Regions from separate parts of the Homo sapiens genome. Here all the other regions are linked to region 3. Evidence: promoter capture Hi-C in 16 types of primary human blood cells and fetal thymus (Javierre and others, 2016). All regions are on one chromosome and are shown on one strand. The core of a region is centred on a gene start or on the middle of the fragment in contact, and the rest is flanking DNA. Distances in the headings are between cores, read along the strand shown. Region 1 overlaps XPO5 (exportin 5). Region 2 overlaps LOC105375044 (a long non-coding RNA gene). Region 3 holds the start of OARD1 (O-acyl-ADP-ribose deacylase 1).

Region 1 (2,700 bases), core at 189-2,688, 2.5 Mb after region 3:
GGGCATGGTACCACATGCCTATAATCCCAGCTACTTGGGAGGCTAAGGCGAGAAGATCACTTGAGCCCAGGAGTTCGAGGCTGCAGTGAGCTATGATCATGCTAATGCAATCCAGCCGGAGCAACAGAGACTCTGTCTCAAAAAAAAAAAAAAGTCATATTCTAATACTTGAAACAAATTCATTCTGCATACTTAAAATTCTGCATGTTTTTCATCATTAGTATCACATAGTAGTTGTTTGGAATAAAAGAAAATAGTGTTTCAATCTAATTTAGATCTAAGAATCTTATTGATTTGTTGAAAATATTTAATCCCCTCTGCCCTGTCTTTATAATTTAAAAAATAGAAGTCAATACATAAGCATGATTAATTAAACCTAGTAAGAGACATATGCTGAATTATGCTTTCTGCTTTTGTTTTGTTTTGTTTTTGAGATAGGGTCTTGCTCTGTTGCACAGGCTGGAGTGCCATGGCACCATCACAGCTCACTGCAGCCTGGACCTCCTGGGCTCAGAAAATCCTCCCACCTCAGCCTCCTGAGTAGCTGGGCCACAGGCATGCGCCACCACGCTCAGCTAATTTTTGCATTTTTGGTAGAGATGGGGTCTCACTGCATTGCCCAAGCTGCTCTCGAATTCTTAGATGCAGGTGATCCTCTTACCTTGGCTTCCCAAAGCGCTAGAATTACAGGTGTGAGTCACTGTGCCTGGCCTAAATTATGATTTCTTGTGCTGTCTGACCTATTTAGAAGCAGTGAATTTTTACACAAACTCCCTATTGAAGAAGTCACGCTTTGCCTAAACTACCTTGGAAACATGTCTCCCAACCACCCATTCCTTACATTTGCAATCAGCTCCATGACACTGTTCTTCAGATACACCTTCTCCAATCGAGACATGCCGTTCCACCGAAACCTGACCACCAAAATGCATAAAGTCAATAGAACCACTTTAGAAGTCTTGTCTTTACAAGAGAATAGCATGGATTTCTACATTTGATTACACTGGAGATTTCATTAAGAAATTATACTTTTGATTTTGTACCTGTCAATGAATGGGCAAAAATGATCTACATTTAACCAAAATACTAACACAAAAATTCTTGGGAAAAGGTTTTATATATGCAGTGGTCCATTAACTGGAATCCGCACAAGATTTGTACCACACGTCAGCTTTGCCTCATGATTTTATTGATGGGCCAAAAGTGAATATACATCTAGGTCAACTGCAACAATGTACTTGCTTTTCAGAAAATGCAGTTTTGACATCAGTCATTTTCTGTGCTGGCTTACAAAACAATTCTGGAAAAACTATGGCTAAGTCTTAAAGGCTACCTCTTCTGATAGGTGTTGAGGGTAGGACAATCAAGTTAGGATGGGTTTTCAGTTATTCTCATACAATCCTGCTTTGGATGTACCACCCAGAGAAGGCACACAAACTCAGAAAGACAGAGAGAAAAAAGAAAGCCACAGTGCCTAATCAGAGATTCATTGACCTATACATTGCATTACTCTAAAAAGGCTTCGAGGGCTAATGACATATAGTCAGAGCTCAGTAAGTATTGGCTAAATGGCAGGTAATATTTGTTGAATGGGTAATATGTACCACACACTTTACATGGATGAAGAAACTGAAGAAAAGAAAGGTTAAATCTTGAATGAGAGCTCCTGTGAGGTTCTGATAACATCTAGGGGATCATTCCTCTCTTCTTGGAGATTGCTCTTCTCTACTCACCTAAACAGCATCTCTATAGGTTATATAAGATATAAAGATCTGTTCTCTCAGACTTCAGTGGTAATGTCCAAGAGCTCCTTACTTGACAACGTGTTCCAGGATCTGAAGGCCAAAATGTCTGACGATGGCAACTTGTGTTTTCTCAGCCAACCTCAAGCCACAGGGGACACAGATAGGACACTTTTCTTTAAACTCCTCACAAAACTGAAAGAAGAAAAGTTAGTGTTTCCTTTCGAGGGCTGAGAGAATAGGGACTAAAAGAATTTCATCTTAAGAAACTCCAACCAGGGCCGGGTGCGGTGGCTCACACCTGTCCCAGCACTCTGGGAGGCTGAGATGGGTGGACTACTTGAGTCTAGGAGTCTGAGACTAGCCTAGGCAACATGGCGAAACCCCATCTCTATTAAATATATATATATATATATATTTTTTTTTTTTTTTTTTGAGACGGAGTCTCACTCTGTCGCCCAGGCTGGAATGCAATGGCATGATCTCGGCTCACTGCAACCTCTGCTTCCCAGGTTCAAGCAGTTCTCCTGCCTCAGCCTCCTGAGCCCATGTAGCTGGGACTACAAGTGCACGCCACCACACCCAGCTAATTTTTGTATTTTTAGTAGAAACAAGGTTTCATCATGTTGACCAGGCTGGTCTTGAACTCCTGACCTCAGGTGACCCACCTGCCTTGGCCTCCCAAAGTGCTGGGATTACAGGCGTGAGCCACTGTGCCCGGCCCACTAAAAATATTTTTTTAAATTAGCCGGGCATGGTGGCAGGTGCCTGTAATCCCAGCTACTCAGGAGGCTGAAGTGGTAGGAGAATCACTTGAGCTCGAGAAATCAAGGCTGAAGTGAGCCGAGATCTCACCACTGCACGCCAGCCTGGACAACCAGAGTGAGACCCTACTCAAAAAGAAACTCCAACCTAAGCTATATGTTTAAAGTTGCAAAACCTAGATCAATATTATGTG
Region 2 (2,790 bases), core at 103-2,602, 2.4 Mb before region 3:
ATTATGTGGCAAAAGGGACTTTGCAGATATGATTAAATGATGTATCTAGGGAGATTATCCTGGATTGTCTGACTGGGCTGGAGGCAGGAGGGTCAGAGTCAGAGAAGGAGATGTGATGATGGAAGCAGAGGTCAGACAGAGATTTGAAGATGCTATACTGTTGGCTTTGAAGATGGACCCAAGAAACGCAAGCAAATTGTAGATGCGGGAGAAGGCAAGGAAATGGATTCTTCTCTAGCACCCTAAGAACACAGCCCTGCCAACACCTTGATTTTAGGACTTCTGACTTCTAGAACTGCGAGATAAGAAACTTGTATGTTTTAAGGTACCAAGTTTGTGCTAACTTGTTACAACAGCAATAGGAAACTGATACAGTCAGTAATAAAGATAATAGTTGGTTTCCTGCAGCTTTCTCCATTACCTGGAAAAGAAGGGTACAATTCAGTAGGTCCCCTCAGAGACTATAGCAATATGACTGTGACCTGATGGAACCTCCACATCTAGAGAAAAATGTCCAATAAACACTCAAACTGTACAGGTCTATGAATGAGGAAAGAGGTTGAGTTAAAATAGATTTGGAAGAAATAAATTAATAATTGGTAATTTAAGCCCGAGGCATGGATGAGATCAATCAGGGAGAAAATACAGAAGACATAATAAGGAGAGGCAAGGATAGGGCCCCTGGAGAGCACTAACTTTAAAAGGAGGTGCAGATGATCAGAAGCCCAAAAAGAAGTCTGAGGAAGAATGGCCAGAGAGAGAAAAGGAGAACTAGGTGAGCCTAATGCCTCTGAAGCCAAGCAAGCAAGATGGAGAGGGGTCAACAGAGTCAGAGACCACAAAAAGGCCAAGTATATCAAGAACTGGAAAGCATTCACTGGATTTAGCAACAGAAAAGTGATTGGTAACCAACAATAGCAAACTTCAGTGGGATAGTGGAGATAGATACCAAATCACTGAGATCTGAAAGGCAGATCAATATAGTGGATTGGCCTCTAGACTAGTTTGATGGGAGTTTTGAGATTCTAGTCTTGATTCTGGCCATTAACTAGCTAGATAACTTTGAACAAATCCCTCAACTACTCCAGGCTTTGGTTTTCGCATCTGGCAAAGGATGAGATCAAGCTGAGTCTATGATTTTCTCATTAATTCCTAGATAATCCCCCCAGTTTTATTTTTTTATTTTTTGTCATATCTGATTCAATACTTTTATTTATTTTTATTTTTTATTTTTGAGACAGCATCTTGCTCTGTTGCCCAGTGTGGAGTGCAGTGGTACAATCTTGGCTCACTGCAGCCTCAACCCCCGGGCTCAATCACCCCAATTTCATATCAGACTCACTTGCTTATAACAGCACACTTCAAATCCTTCTCAGACCATTTTCCAACCACTAAGAATCAGTATATTTCATGCCAGCTTCTGTCCTAGATACTATGGCTATAACACAGTTTTCAAGGAACTCACAATTTGGAGAGAGAGAGAGAAATACTAAGTATGTAACTAGCTGTCATAGTTCTTTAAAAAAAAAAAAAGAAAAAAAAGTAAGGCCAGGCGCGGTGGCTTATGCCTGTAATCCTAGCACTTTGGGAGGCCGAGGCGGGTAGATCACCTGAGGTCAAGAGTTTGAGATCAGCCTGACCAATATGATGAAAACCCGTCTCTACTGAAAATACAAAAATTAGCCGGGCATGGTGGCATATGCCATCATCCCAGCTACTCAGGAGGCTGAGACAGGAGAATCACTTGAATCCGGGAGGCAGAGGTTGTGTAGAGCCAAGATCTCGCCATTGGACTCCAGCCTGGGCAACAAGAGCAAAACTCTGTCTCAAAAAAAAAATTAAAATAAGTAAATAAATAAAAATAAAAAATAATAAGATAGACCTGATTGTGGTGGCTCATGCCCCGTAATCCCAGTGCTTTGGAAGGCCAAAATGGGAAGATCACCTGAGGCCAGGAGTTTGAGACCAGCCTGGGCAATATAGCCAGACACCCATCTCTACAAAAATTTTCTAAAAATTAGCCAGGTGTGGTGGTGCGCACCTGCAGTTCTAACTACTTGGGAGGCTGAGGCAAGAGGATTGGGTGAGCCCAGGAGTTTGAGGTTACAGTGAGCTATTACCAGATTACAGTGAGCTATGACTGTGCCAGTGCACTTCAGCCTGGGCAACAGAGCAAGACCCTAAAAGCTAGATATAAATATATTGTAAGTATAATACAATATACTATAACAGAATCTGTATGAAGTGAAATGAGGGATATATAAAGTGATACAGATAAGGGCGCAGTTAGCTCTATCTAATGGAAGTCAAGAGTGTTGTACTTACCTACACTGTTAAGTAAACACAGTATGCCTCAAAAATGGACACAAATATATTAAGGCATTTCCATGGAGGTAAAAAAAGAACAGGAGAATTGTGCTAAACCAGCGTTGTCACCTAACATTCCTTCTAGGTAGTTTTGTTGTGATCTAAATGAATATTTATATATAACTGTTTCTAAACTAAAATTGGTTAGTTGTTAAAATGGACACAAATAAAAGTTAAATGCAAGAATAATTTATATTTTTCCAGTAGATTCAAGAGGAAATATTTTTTGTCACTAATGCCATGCTTTAATACATTTGCTTGTCTAATCCTCATGTATTATCTTACTTAATTTTGTAAACATTAGCTTATTGTATAGATCACTGACAAAGTATCTGTTTTAGCAGATAGGGACAAAGTTTAAATAATTTGGCCAAGGTCATAGTAGACCAAGATTTGGACCCAGCACAAGCATCCTCTTTCCAG
Region 3 (2,700 bases), core at 160-2,659:
AACCTTCACAGGAGTTGGGTTTTGATATGGTAAACGTCTAAACTAGAGGCCATTCTTGGGGAGGAAAATCTTAAAAACATTTGGTTCTTAGGAATCCCCTCTTTACACGCATATTTTATTAAAGTGTAACAGATTAAAAGGTGCTCTAGCCAGGGCAAACCAGGTAAGTGGTTTCCAAAACTCACGTTGATTTAAAAGTTCTTGCACCCCTCCAAATTTCTTCTTAAAGAGGACAGCTATCCCAGCGCCCATGCGACAATCCTCACTGATACAGTGGGCTAAAGAGTCTGTTTTCGGGCATGCAAAAAGGTCTCCTTTCACATAAGTGATCTAAAAAATGTGCAAAGGAAAAGACAATGTTTTATTAGATACAGTAAAATACTAAGCTATTTTTCTGTATTTTGTGTCCCCCACGACTACCTCTCCCGGCACCCCTTCCTCCAATCTGATTTAAAGCCAAACCAATTACAGCATGTGTAAAAGGAAAGTAATGGATGATCCCTGCCTAGAATTTTGAGCCTTTTTAAAGTAAATCAGCTAGAGAGAAAAAAAGATAATGCAATCATTAATTTAATTAAAAAGTGTTTATGCTTTTGACCTCCATTATTACGAATTTCAGTTCACCAATAAGTCAATAGTTGTTACGCACTCTGCTTCCTTCTGGATCTTCATTAAGGCTGCTGGCCATGATACTGAGTCGCTATTTCCAGAATTTAAGTGTTTCTTCAGCTATGAGAAGGGAAAAGGAAGTAAAAATGCTTAGGCAGCCTTAGTATATAATATTCTGATTGCCCTGTACAACCACTTAATAGGCTTTTTTCCCCAACGTTTATCGATGAATGTGAGTTTGTTCGGCCCCTGGGACGTAATACAAAACCCTTCTGGGGCAAAGAGGAAGAACGCTTAGGTTCGGAGGCTGTCTCGACCCGCTCTCATTTCGTGCTTTCCTGGAGCGCCCCGCTCCGTCAGCGGAAGCAAAGCCCATCCCTAAGACACGCCTCCTCCTTTCTCCAGGGCCACTCCGGAGCAAGGCCGATTTAGGACGGTCTCCTTTTCTCTGCACGACGCAAAAGTATTTCCCCAGTGGGTCTGGCTTAGAAGAAAACAGAAGGGACTTGGCCACAGTCCCGTTAAGCCGCAACCACAGAGTGTACAGGGTACTGGCGTGCTGAGCCCCAGGCGTGGGGAAAGGAAGGCGGCCTCTCAAGGAACGTTCACCCCCCACTTTTTTGGGGGGTGCGTGGGAGAAGGAAAGAGTCTATTGAAGCCTCCCATTCTCTGTCTCCTACCCTAGGGCGGGTCAGCGAGGACGCAGTCTGTCCTGGGGTCCTATGGGAGGGTGCGGGGAGGCTCGCTCAAAGCCCCAACGTACCCAAGTCACCCTTCACCTGGAAAGGAGTCGGTTGTTTGGAGGTCCCCGCCCCGCGGGGAAGGGCTCCGGATCCGACCCTGGTAGGTGGGGAGCAGCGGACCAGCCCAAACGCGGAGCCAATCCCGCCAAAGCCCTTAATTGCACGCATCTAAGATGGCCGCCCCCGCCCGGTAGCGGGGCGGAAACGAGCCCCTCTAGCTTGCTAGCCGAGCCCACACTCTTTGGCGAAGGCCGCCGAACTTCCGGCAGTAAATTCCGTGGTTTCCCGCCGCCGCCCGCGCATGCGTAACGAAACTGCCCCACGAGTCGGGAAAAGTGGCGCTTGCGCATTAGCCGCAGGGGTGTGTCCTAGTGGCCACTTGGAAAGGGGTGGGCAGCTGGCAAAGGGGCTAGTTAGCGCCTGCGTAGTACTAAGCTCAAGGCAGCGTTTTGAGTTGAAGGGTCTGGCGCGTCTGGAAAGCGCCTGCGTATTCCTTTCACTGGGGGTGGTGTCAAAGCGGGAAGGTGGGCGTGGCTTCAGGGAACGCCTGCGCGTTGCTCCTCCGAAGGGGTGGGGCGATCCCTGAACTGGAGTTAGTGGGCGTGGCCTCAGAGGCGCCTGCGCGGAGGCGGTTGGAGGGAGGCCCGATTCCCCTTTGTTCGGGTTCGCCATTTTGCTAGGCAGCGGCAGTGGCGGCGGCAGCGGCGGCTGGAGCCTCTGATTGGGTTTCGGAGTCCGGTACTGGAGCCAATCAGCGCGGGCAGCGAACCGGGGGAGCGAGGCACGGTGAGTGTGAGGAGCCAATATCCAGCGGCCCAGAGCCGGCCCCAGCGCCCCGATTGGCGGGTCTCGCTGACCACTCAGGAGAGGCCCAGGCGCCCGTCGAGCCCGGGGAGTCGAGCTGAGCCTAGCCGAGCCGGGCGGCCAGCGGCCCCGGCCCGGGGCCTGCGAGCGCCTCGGGGCACTCCCGGCCGAGGCCTGCAGGGGCCGCCCCGCGCGGGGATGGCGCCTCGGGGAGCAGGCACCTCGGGGCTCCGACCCTCGCAGGGTGCCAGGGCCAGTTGGGAATGCGTCCCTGTTCCCCGACTCAGGCCCAGGTTCTCAGGCCCCAGGCCTGGGGCCACGAATGGCCCTACACTAGGGGACACATGCGCGCCCTGGGCCTCGGCGATTTCCTCCTGGTCGTTCTGGCCGCAAACTTAAACCTGCCCTTGCACTCTCCACTCTCCGGCCCTTGGGACAGGAAGCCTCCCCGGGGCCCGCGCCCCCCGCTCCCCGCTCCCAGCGAGCCGGGTCTGTCTTATCTGCAGCCCCTCTAGGTCGGGAGGGAGGCCTGGGGAGGGTGCGC

What was found. The method cuts DNA at HindIII sites, captures the fragments that hold promoters and counts their contacts. A CHiCAGO score of 5 or more calls a contact.
Region 1: a fragment that was not itself captured here is called in contact with the fragment with the promoter of OARD1 in region 3 in 1 of 17 cell types (neutrophils); the score reaches 5.1 in neutrophils.
Region 2: a contact is called between a fragment that was not itself captured here and the fragment with the promoter of OARD1 in region 3, in 1 of 17 cell types (non-activated CD4 T cells). The highest score is 7.6, in non-activated CD4 T cells.

What each region holds. Positions count from the first base shown.
Region 1 is chr6:43,571,665-43,574,364 of GRCh38, forward strand. It overlaps XPO5 (exportin 5), which reads right to left. Exons shown (of 32, transcript NM_020750.3): 2 at 1,816-1,937; 3 at 842-914. Among named protein-coding and RNA genes, the nearest start is that of XPO5, 3.0 kb to the right of the region's middle. The HindIII fragment of the contact is 3,844 bases long and covers 1-2,700 here.
Region 2 is chr6:38,641,818-38,644,607 of GRCh38, forward strand. All of the region lies in intron 1 of LOC105375044 (a long non-coding RNA gene), which reads left to right. Among named protein-coding and RNA genes, the nearest start is that of BTBD9, 3.3 kb to the left of the region's middle. The HindIII fragment of the contact is 4,394 bases long and covers 1-2,790 here.
Region 3 is chr6:41,070,947-41,073,646 of GRCh38, forward strand. It overlaps OARD1 (O-acyl-ADP-ribose deacylase 1), which reads right to left and starts at 1,410. Exons shown (of 6, transcript NM_001329686.2): 1 at 1,290-1,410; 2 at 650-729; 3 at 186-330. The coding sequence starts at 688. NFYA (nuclear transcription factor Y subunit alpha) reads left to right here and starts at 2,028. Exons shown (of 10, transcript NM_002505.5): 1 at 2,028-2,138. RefSeq lists enhancers at 1,429-1,638, 1,669-1,718 and a silencer at 2,099-2,700. The HindIII fragment of the contact is 4,776 bases long and covers 1-2,700 here.